3 separate regions of the Homo sapiens genome follow, and all the other regions are linked to region 1. The links are contacts of gene promoters, found by promoter capture Hi-C in human tissues and cell types (Jung and others, 2019). All regions are on one chromosome and are shown on one strand. The core of a region is centred on a gene start or on the middle of the fragment in contact, and the rest is flanking DNA. Distances in the headings are between cores, read along the strand shown.

Region 1 (3,506 bases), core at 502-3,001:
GGGAGCCGGGCGCGGGCCGCGAGCTCGTGGGTCGCCGCCGCAGAGTCCCCGGCGTCCCGAAGGCGCTAGATGTGCGTCAGGGGCACCGTGCCGTTCACGCCCGCGCCCGCGCCCTGGTAGTGCTGCGGCAGCGAGTGCAGCCGGCTCTGCGCCGCGGCCGCTGCTGCCGCCGCCGGGTCGCCCCCCTCGCCGGCGGGCAAGTACATGCTGATCATCTCGCGCAGGTCCCCGGGGCACGGCGCCCGCGAGTGCGCTGGGGCGGGCGGGCTGCCGCTGGGCTCCGACTTCACCAGAGAGCCCAGCGCGCCCAGGGCGCCCGACGACGCGGCCGCCGCCGCCGCCGCCGCCGCCACGGCCGAGTTCTGGTGCGCGCCGCCCGCAGCGGCGGCGGCGGCGGCCGCGGCGCCGTAGGGGAGGCCGCCGTAGCCCGAGGGCGACGCGCTCATGTAGCCCTGCGAGTTGGAGATGGGGCTGTACTGCAGCGCGCCCATGTCGTAGCGGTGCATGGGCTGCGGGTTGTGCGGGTGCGCGTGCGGGTGGTGCGGGTGCGGGTGCGCGGGGTGCGCGTGCGGGTGCGCGCCGCCCGCGCCCGGGTGCTGCCCGTAGGCCAGCTGCGCCTCCTGCATCATGGCCGCGGCCGCCGCCGCCGCCGCCACCGAGCCGGGGTAGGCGCCGTTGGCCCAGCCGTTGACGTGCGCGTAGCCGCCGCCCGCCGCGCCGCCTGGGCTCTCCAGGCGCTGGCCCACGGCCGCCGCGCCCACGCCCACGCCCACGCCCATGGCCACAGCCGCGCCGCCGCCACCCGCGCCGGCCGCCAGGAGCCCGCCGGCCAGCGAGTACTTGTCCTTCTTGAGCAGCGTCTTGGTCTTGCGGCGCGGCCGGTACTTGTAATCCGGGTGCTCCTTCATGTGCAGCGCGCGCAGCCGCTTGGCCTCGTCGATGAACGGCCGCTTCTCGGCCTCGGACATGACCTTCCACTCGGCCCCCAGGCGCTTGCTGATCTCCGAGTTGTGCATCTTGGGGTTCTCCTGGGCCATCTTGCGCCGCTGCCCGCGGGACCACACCATGAAGGCGTTCATGGGCCGTTTGACCCGGTCCTGGTTGGCCTTGGCGCCCCCGCCGCCGCCGCCGCCCCCGCCTCCGCCCCCGCCGCCGCCCGCCCCGGCGGGGCCCGAGAGGTTCGTGGGGGCCTGGGCGCCGCCGGGCGAGTGCAGGTCGGTCTCCATCATCATGCTGTACATCGGGGCGGCTGGCGGGTTCACCGGCACCGCGAGGAGAGGGCCTGGAGCATAGACGGCCGGGGTGGGAGGGAGACGGAGAGGAATTCAGACGGAGTGAGACGGGGGCGGGGGGGTCCTAGCGGAGAGAAGAATGGGGAGGGGTGGAGGCAACGACAACAAAAAAAGGCAGAAACACACGCACTCGGCGCCGGTTCGGCTCGCAGGTGGAAAGTTTCTCCTGATGCACAAACCACTTGCCAAAGAGGCCGACGGTCGGGGTCGCCGTCTTCGCCGCCACCGCAGCCCAGGCGCCCTCGGCGGAGCGGTGCAAACAGGTGCAGTCGTGGCCAAGTTGCAGCTCCGCTTTTGGGGCCGGGAGCGGTGCGCTGGGCCCGGCCCGGGGTGTGCTGTCTCCTCGCCGGCCGCCGCTGCGCGCTGTCTCCTTCCTCCTGCGCTCGGTCCTCAGCGGCCTCCAACTCGGAGGCTGCAACTTCTAGCAGGGCGGCGCGCCGCGTGCGCTGGGCATGTGCTGGTCCCAGGTGCCCGGGGGAAGCCAGGCGCCAGTGGCGGGGGGGGGGAGGCGCAGGGGGGCCTGCAGGGGGCGATTACGGTGCAGCCAGGGAGGGGCCCGGGGACAGCGGGAGGAGCGCGGGCTCGCGGAGAGGGCCGGAGAGCCGGGGCCGCCGAGCCCGGGATGGGCTGCCCGCTGCCTGCCCGGGGCCGTGCGCTCGGAGCGGAGGCGCACGCGGGGCCGGCGGCGCGCGGGGCCCAGCAGCCATACGCCGGGCCCGGGCTGCCATTAAATGAGCGCGCCGCGGCCAATGGGAGCCGGCGGCGGCGGTGATTTGCATGGCGCGCTGGCGAGTGACGTGGGGAGGGAGTAGATACACTGGGCGCGGGCGGCGGAGCGGGGAGGAGGGGAGGAAGGAGGGGGAGCAAAGCAGGAAGGAGGGGGGAGGAGGCCCGGGAGGGGGTGACAGCCACACCGCTTCCTGAGCGCGCGCGCGCGGCGGCGGCGGCGGCGGCGAACCCCGAGCTCGCCCTCCTCGCCGCTCCCCGCCCGCGCGTTCCGAATGATTAACGATTGGGTTGAAAAGCGAAGACTAAGAAAGGATCGTCGTGGGGTGGGGGGAGGAAACGCAGCCCCTGGCCAGGTTTAAACGGGCGCAGTGGAGACCCAGCTCCTCCTCTGCCCCCGCCGGCCAACTCTGTGCCTGCAGGGAAGGGGAAAGTTGAGTGCGGGGCTGGCACGTCGCCCTCAGTTCCCCCGAGTGCTGAAAAGGAGGGGCGCTCCCTTGGACGCAGGGGATACCCTCCGAGGGCCCCTGCAGGTTCTCTGCAAGGATCAGGCGGCTCAGCCATCCCCCGCCCTGCATCCGTTCTCGGCCGCGGCGTGCACTGAAGTTCGCCAGTGCCCGCTCTTGCAGCGAAGGCCTTCACAGTCCAGGCCCCACAATTCGGGTAAAGGGGGAGTATTTGTGTGGGCATGGCTCCATAGCTTCGTTTAGTATCAGCCCTAAACTTTTGTGGGGAGGAGTCTTTCAATGAGCCCGGGGCCATAGTCACGCACTCTTCCCAACCCGGATCTTCTTCCTCTGGAAAAGGAATTTCTAGGAAGGCCGAACACAACAAGATCTATCTGGAATCTAGTTCCTGAACAACAGTTGAAAAAGTTTGTTGAATCGCAAAATAATGATATGGCGCACGCTTTTCTGGAGTGAATTTCCCACGAGCTGGTTGCCTAAGAACGGAGAAAACTGCGTGAACTGCGCGGGGCCACATAAACCGAATGAAAGGCGGGGCCTCAGGACGGGTCTCAGCCGCCGGTCTGCGTCATGCAAAGGAAAGGCCTGGCTCGTGGAAAGAGTAAGGCATTCACCTGTGGTTATCATTCTTAAACCTCAAAGTGGCTTTGATTTGGGAACGTGAAAGAGATTTTCAAACGCAGTCTCAAGTAGCATAGCGCTCACACTACCGTTTCCACCAGACTGATCTGAAAGTGGTCCAAAGACGACTTTTGAGCCCAAGTATTCCTCCTCTGCCCTCCCCGAGGCACCCTGAGATGAGAGTGCTTGTGGAGATTGGTGGTGGGTAAAGTAGAACCTTCACCGCATGTCACATGTCTGCCTGTCTTGTAGTAGGAATATTCAGTAAAGATGATGATAACGGTAATAGGAGTAATAGGATGTTTGAGTCTGTTGGGCAGCGAACACGTGACACCTTTTTTTTCCTCTTAAAAAAACTTCTGAGGTTGTGAATTTCTTGACCCTGTTGCTTGTCCAAGGT
Region 2 (3,506 bases), core at 327-2,826, 47 kb before region 1:
CTCTCTCCAGGCGGGCACATGAACCAGCCCTGCTCTGCCTTCTGTTCTTCCACCAATTAAATCCAAAGAGGAGAAAACATCCTCTGGAAGAAGATACGTCGTTTCTGCTTGTACAAATGGGATGTAATAGAATTTTCTCAAGGTGTGTGAGCTAACTGCCAAGTCATCAGTATTTCAAAGCTTGTGTTCACAAGGTTTAAAGTGAAAATATTTTTCCAGACCAGAATACAGAATGTACTGAGATGTGTTTTGAAATGCTCTCATTTATTAAGTTTTAATTTCTTTCATTCTTTGAAAAATCAACCAAAAATGTCATCTATAAACACTTAAACATTAAGTATAGATGTATATTTTATTACCCATCATAATGGGAAAAGGATTTTATATTTGATCAAGATATTAATTTTGGCAATTCAATTTTTTCATCAAAAAAGCTCGGAAAATGATTCTTACCCAATGTAGCAAACCTTCTTCTGTGCATGTGGGCCCCATCTGTGCTTCAGAAAGTGCCTCAGTGAATGGCGTTGCACTTGGGCTGTCCTACACCCGCCTTTTCCGTCTCTCACCCATGGCCAGCCCTTCCACTCACTTGGCAGGATCCCACAGTGCCAGCTGCCCCAGGACTCACCTGGCAAAACTCACCCCTGACTCATGGCACTCATCAGCCCTCCACTTCCCGCTGCATGGCTTGAGGAAATCACGCCCTTGCCTCCTTGTTTCACCCGAAAATCATGACCGTCTACTTCCAGGAGGCCAGAGGCTGCTGCCCAAACACGCAGGGTTTCCCCAGGCCATTCACTCCCGGCATCCAAGGACATGGCTCCCTCCGTCTCCAAAGCTGGCCTCCTCCTCATGGCCTTCATCATGTTTCACCCTCAGCCACATGTTCATTCCTCCTTCCTTCGAAAATATCCAGGACACACCCAGCTTGTTCCAGGCACAGAGGCCGAGGATGCAGCATGCACTGCACAGGCAGGAATCCCTCCCGGGTGAAGTGTGGTTCTGGGTGCGGAGACCACACAAAGAAAGCCAAGGAGGGATTTGGCTTGGTCCTGGGGTAAGTGCTACGGAGATGAAAGAAGACGAAAAGAGGTTGGGGCCAATTTAAACAGGCGGTCAGGAGGGCCTCACTGACAAGGTGGCCTCTGAGCAAAGGGCCGATGGTAGGAGGCGAGGAGGTGAGGGGCAGAGTCCTCTGGGGAAACGGAAGCAGCGGTGCCAGAGCCCGTAGTGGGGCAGGAAGCGGTCAAGTGGCTAATGTGGGTTGAGCAGAGGGAAGTGTAAATGGAAAATTCAACCAAAGGGATAACAAGGGGCCAGATAGTGGAGACATTGTGGAAGGTCATACAGGCAGGCCCAGGTGCCATGTGTACCACGCAGGGGCCACTCACCTGTTCCAAGAATCCTGAGTGTGGCCACTCCCCACCTGCTCCAGTGCAGGCATGGATCTCTCTCTCTCCCTGAATGAGTACAGTTGCTAAGACTTTTCTCAAGGGCTGATTCTCATGGACCAAGAGGTGCTTGAAGACTAGGTTCACAGCGGCTGTCATAGTGAGCTGTCCCCACTTGGACCTTACACTGATACATACACCAAGATGCTGCAGGTCACTCAGTGCAGGAGTACTGCACTGAGCAGTATTCCACTGCTCAGAATCACTCCAGAGGTCCTCACTGCCCAGAGAATCAGGTCAGCATTCATGCACCTGCCGTCCAAGGCCCTCCATTGCACAGCCAGATGCTTCTCCTCCAACATGGTTACCCTCTGCTCACATACTCAACAGCGTCTTTGGCTTCAGCCAAGCTGAGGCATGCCCACACTGCAAGCATTCAGGAAAGAAGCCAGTGCAGCCTCTCACTTCCTCTGCCGAGGGACTGCTGCTACCTTCCAATCAGGCCCTCCAGGCAGGGGCTTTGCTTGGAGGCCCTGAGCAGATTCCATCTTCCTCTGGGAACTTTCTCTGACTACCCAGCTCTGAACCATCCTTTCCTCTGCAGAATCATCAAAGCGTCTATTCCTGTAGCTCTGCCCCTTGGTATGGGGCCCACTTTCCCGAAGACGATTTGCTATGTCCTGCCCCGTGCCTCTGTAAATGCTGTTCCCCTGCAAGAAAGTCTTTCCCTTCCTCTCCTCTTTCCTCAAGACTGAGATCCTGGGAAGCGTTCTCTCCTCTCCCAGGAGGAGAGTGCCACTCCTTTCTAAGTGCCCCACTGAATTACCTGTAATTGCAGTTGTCCTGCTGAACAAGTGTTTACTGTCTCTTCGCTACAAGGTTGTAAATTTCATGAGAGCATGATTCATGACCAACGTCTTTACTTCCGTATCCTGCACTTTGCAAAGCACCATAAATATGGTAGATACCTGACAAACATCTACTGCATTGAATTCTTACCCTATCATCTTTTCCTGTCTTATCAAAGAATATAAATTACCGTGTTTGCTTATGAATAATCTCCAGTGAAGGTGTCAGTTAATTTTTTTTGGACTAGAAATAAAAGACCATGCCACAGATCTTCAGAAAGATCCTCCCATGAAAGGAGCTTTGAGGGCCCTTCCCACCCTTGCCTCCACCTTTCCTCTTTAACAGAGAAACACGTGAAATAGACATTTTTAAAAGCCACAAACCTTAGATTTGCTCCGATCAGAGAGGAACCGGGTGTGATGGGCGTCTCAGATCAGAGAGGAGCCGGGTGTGCTGGGCATCTGACTCATGCTCTGTGGCCTCCATCCAGTCCGTCCTCACAAAATGCACAGCGGGAAAGAAGGAATGGACTTAGTTTTCTTCTGGGGAGAAATACGCTTCAGTAGAAGCACTGGAGGGCTTGGAGGAAGGCTCAGTGTGCTGTGTCTGCTTCTGGGATGGTCCTGGGTTTGGTGCATGAGGTAGGCTAGGGTGCTGGCTAGGGTGGTGGGCTAGGGTGGTGGGCCAATGTGGTGGGCTAAGGTGGTGGGCTAGGGTGATGGGCTAGGGTGGTGGGCTGGTAAGAGCAGTGAGACGGTGCGTGGAAGGTCAAACCAGTGGAGTGCAGTGGGCAGTGAGCCTGCTAACTGAAAGGACACCTGTGGTGGGTCTTCTGAAGGCTTCTCCGCAACTCCACATAGGGGTTCATGCTCAAGACCGTGAGGTCAAATCATGGTGGTGCATCTGGAAGCTTCTAAGAGTCAAGGAGGGCAAAAGGTCATGGGCCACGTTCAATTCTCGCTGACCCCTCTTTGCACGGATGCAGGTGACCCCATCTCACCTGCCCCAGACAAACACTATAGCAAGGCTGCGCTGGCTACAGGACGGAAATGCTGGGTAAGCTAAAGACATGAAGGAGAACACTGACCCCATGGGCATCAGCTCACCCCTGACCTCAACAGGAGACGGGTGAGGCAAAGCTCCAACTCTCTTGTTTTTCATGAAGCTTAATGTTTTCCTTTTTTTTTTTAATTCCTCATTCTAGATCTCGGCCTCTGACTTATTTTGCTTTATATAATTCTTGTTTCAGCAGCTGCTTCTCAGAGT
Region 3 (3,506 bases), core at 568-3,067, 45 kb after region 1:
CCAAGATCGCGCCATTGCACTCCAGCCTTGGCAACAGAGCGAGATTCCGTCTCAAAAAAAAAAAAAAGAAAGAAAAGAAAAAAAAAGAAAAATGCCGTAAACCTCTTTTCTTTATACCCAGTCTCAGGTATATCTTTATCAGCAGCATGAAAACAGACTAATACACCTAGTGTCATTAATAAAAGATAAAAGATGATTGAATAGTATATTTTATTATAAACAAAATATGAAGCTGTAAAAATGAATGAGAAAGCTCTCTGCTGGAAATAAGGATGAATCTCCAGAATATAATATTTAGTGGAATAGGATGGTACAGAAAGGTGTGGAAGGAAGTGGGGAAAATAAGAATAAGCATAAATACTTATATTTCCTCCTGTTTACACCAAGAAACTCAGGAAGGATACATAAGAAACTGAGTGGTAACCTGAGGGCAGGGGCAGGGGTGGATGTGAGCATGGGGAAAATTACAACATTTTTCACCTATACCTATTGACATTGTTTTGATATTGAACCATGTGAAAACATAACCTATTCTGAAACACACACACTCACGCGTACAGACCACAGTGTAAGCTGGGACAATCGTCTTGACAGCCTGTTTGGCAGGTCAGGCAGACCCTAGAGATGCAGGTCAGGCAGACCCTACAGATTCCAGGTTTAGTTCTAGACCACCACGATAAAGCAAATATCACAGTAAAAGGAGTCACTTGAATGTTTTGGTTTCCCATTGCATATTAAAGCTATGTTTACACTATGCTGTAGTTTATTAAGTGTGTAATTGCATTGTGTCTAAAAAACAATGTACATACCTCAGTTAAAAATACTTTTATTGCTAAAAAATGGTAATGATCATCTTAGCTTGTAACAAATTGTAATCTTCTTTTCTGGTCTTGCCTGAATGTTGATGGCTGCTGACTGATCAGGGTGGTAATTGCTGAAGGTTGAGGTGGTTGTGGCCTCACAAATATTCCTAATACAAGAAAATGAAGTTTGCTGCATTAATTGACTCTTCTTTTTATGAAAGATTTCTCTGTAGCATGTGATGTTGTTTGATAGCATTTTACCAACATAGAACTTCTTTCACAATTGGAGTCAGTCTTCTCCAACCCTGCTGCTGCTTTATCAACTAAATTTGTAGAATATTCTAAATCCTTTGTGTAATTTCAGCAATGTTCATAGCATCTTCATCAGGAGTAGATTCCATCTCAGTAGGCCACTTTCCTTGCTCATCCATAAGGAGCAACTCTTCACCATTCAAGTTTTATCATGAGAGTGCAGCAGTTCAGTCACATCTTCAAGCTCCTCTTCTAATTCTACTTCTCTTGCTATTTCCACCCCATCTGTAGTTCCTTTGTCTACTGAAGTCCTGAACCCTCAAAATCATCCATAAAAGTGGGAATCACCTTCTTCCAAACTCCTGTTAATGCTGACATTTTGACTTCCTTCCATGAATCACAAATGTTCTTAATGGAATCTAGAATGATGAATACTTTCTAGAAGGTTTTCAATGTACTTTGCTCAGATCCACCTGAAGAATCATTATCTATGGCAGCTATAGTCTTATAAAATGTATTTCTTAAATACTAAGACCGAAAAATTAAAATGACCCTTTGATTCATGGGCTTCAGAATGGACGTTATGTTAGCAGGCATGAATACAACATGAATCTCCTTGTACATCTCCATCAGAGCTCTTGAGTAACTTAGATGCATTGTCAATGAGCACTAATATTTTGAAAAAAATCTTTTTTCTGAGCAGTAGGTCTTAACAATGGACTTAAAATATTCAGTAAACCATGCTGTAAACAGACATGCTATCATCTATTCTTTGTTGTTCAACATATACACCACAGAGTAGACTTAGCATAATTCGTAAGGGCCCTAGGATTTTTGGAACGGTAAATCAGAATTGGCCTCAACTTGAAGTCACCAGCTGCATTAGCCTCAGAGAAGAGAGTCAGCCTGGCCTTTGAAGCTTGAAGACAGGCATTGATTTCTCCTCTCTAGCTATGAAAGTCCTAGATGGCATCTTCTTCCAATATAAGGTTGCTTCATCTACATTGAAAATCTGTTGTTAGTCTAACCACCTTCATCAATGATCTTAGCTGGATCTTCTGAATGGCTTGCTGCAGCTTCTCCATCAGCACATGCTGATTCACCTTGCACTTTTATGTTATGGAGATGGCTTCTTTCCTTCAGCCTCATGAACTAAACCCCTGCTAGCTTCCAACTTTTTTTCTGCAGCTTCCTCACCTCTCTCAACCTTCATAGAACTGAAGAGACTTGGGCCTTGCTCTGGATTAGGCTTTGGCTTCAGGGAATGCTGTGGCTGTGGGTCTTCTCTCTAGACCACTCAGACTTTCTCCATATCAGCAGTAAGTGTGTTTTGAATGATAAGCGTTCCTGTGTTCGCTGACTCGCACTTTTCATTTCCTTCGAGAACCTTTCCTTTGCACTTACCACTTGGTTAGCAGTTTGGTGCCACAGACCTAGTTTTTGGCCTATCTCGGCTTTTGACGTTAGCTGAATTATTTAAGCTTATGTCAAACCTCACTAAGCTCAATGATTTTTAGCTTTTAGTTTAAAGTGAAAGATGTACAACCCTTCCTTTCACTTGAACACTTAGAGGCCATTGTTGGGCTATTAAGTGACTTCACTTTTAAATATTGTTTTGCTCTAGGGAATTTGGAGGCCTGAGTAGAGGGAGAGAGACTGGGAACAGCCTGTCGTAGAGGAGTCAGAATACACACACTTATTAAGTTTGCTCCTGTATGGGCATGGTTTATGGTGCCCCAAAATAGTTAACAGTGGTAACGTCAAAGATCATTGATCACAGATCATTGTAACAGATATAATAATAATAATAAAGCTTGAAATATTGCAAGAAATATCAAAATGTGACATGGAGACACAAAGTGAGCACATACTGTTGGAAAAATGGAGCCAAAAGACCTATTCGATGCAGGGCTGCCACAAAACTTCAATTTTTAAAACATGTAATATTTGCAAAATGCAATAAAATGAGATATCCCTGTATTTACTACAAAGCTAAGATAATCCCTCCTAAACCCGGGGATTTATGTAAGAGAAATGAGCACAAACAACTGAAAATAACACAAATAACGTGTTGACAAGAGAATGGCTAAGTAAATTGTGGTATGTTCTTAGAATGGAACACAAGTGAGGAATAAAAAAGAACAAATGATTATTACATTAAACCAACGGATGAATCTCCAACATGCTGAGTTGAAGAAGCCAGGCATGGGTGAGCCTGATTCTGCACACTCTGATTCTGCATGTATGAAGTTCAAGATCAGGGAAAACGAATCATTAGCCATGGAGTGAGCACAGTGGGTTTTTTTTGAGGGGAGTGACAATGAGGGGGAGGGGCAGGAGGGAAGCTTTGTAAAGTGCCGGTGGCTACTGGGGTCTCATCCCGTGCAGACATTTCCAGCAATCATCTACAATTCATGCACTTTGAGACTCTACAGGATGTATAGTATGTTT

What was found. Contacts are between HindIII fragments. The study calls those that stand out against the background at their distance.
Region 2: a fragment that was not itself captured here is called in contact with the fragment with the promoter of SOX1 in region 1 in 15 of the 25 tissues and cell types used here (H1 embryonic stem cells, IMR-90 fibroblasts, aorta and 12 more).
Region 3: a fragment that was not itself captured here is called in contact with the fragment with the promoter of SOX1 in region 1 in 10 of the 25 tissues and cell types used here (H1 embryonic stem cells, dorsolateral prefrontal cortex, liver and 7 more).

The regions. Positions count from the first base shown.
Region 1 is chr13:112,065,394-112,068,899 of GRCh38, reverse strand. It overlaps SOX1 (SRY-box transcription factor 1), which reads right to left and starts at 1,751. Exons shown (of 1, transcript NM_005986.3): 1 at 1-1,751. The coding sequence starts at 1,241. The coding sequence ends at 66. The region is part of intron 1 of SOX1-OT (SOX1 overlapping transcript); the gene reads right to left. The HindIII fragment of the contact is 28,986 bases long and covers 1-3,506 here.
Region 2 is chr13:112,112,258-112,115,763 of GRCh38, reverse strand. No RefSeq gene overlaps it. Among named protein-coding and RNA genes, the nearest start is that of LINC00404, 7.4 kb to the right of the region's middle. RefSeq lists an enhancer at 2,553-3,506. The HindIII fragment of the contact is 5,932 bases long and covers 1-3,506 here.
Region 3 is chr13:112,019,984-112,023,489 of GRCh38, reverse strand. The region is part of intron 1 of SOX1-OT (SOX1 overlapping transcript); the gene reads right to left. Among named protein-coding and RNA genes, the nearest start is that of SOX1, 45 kb to the left of the region's middle. The HindIII fragment of the contact is 4,707 bases long and covers 1-3,506 here.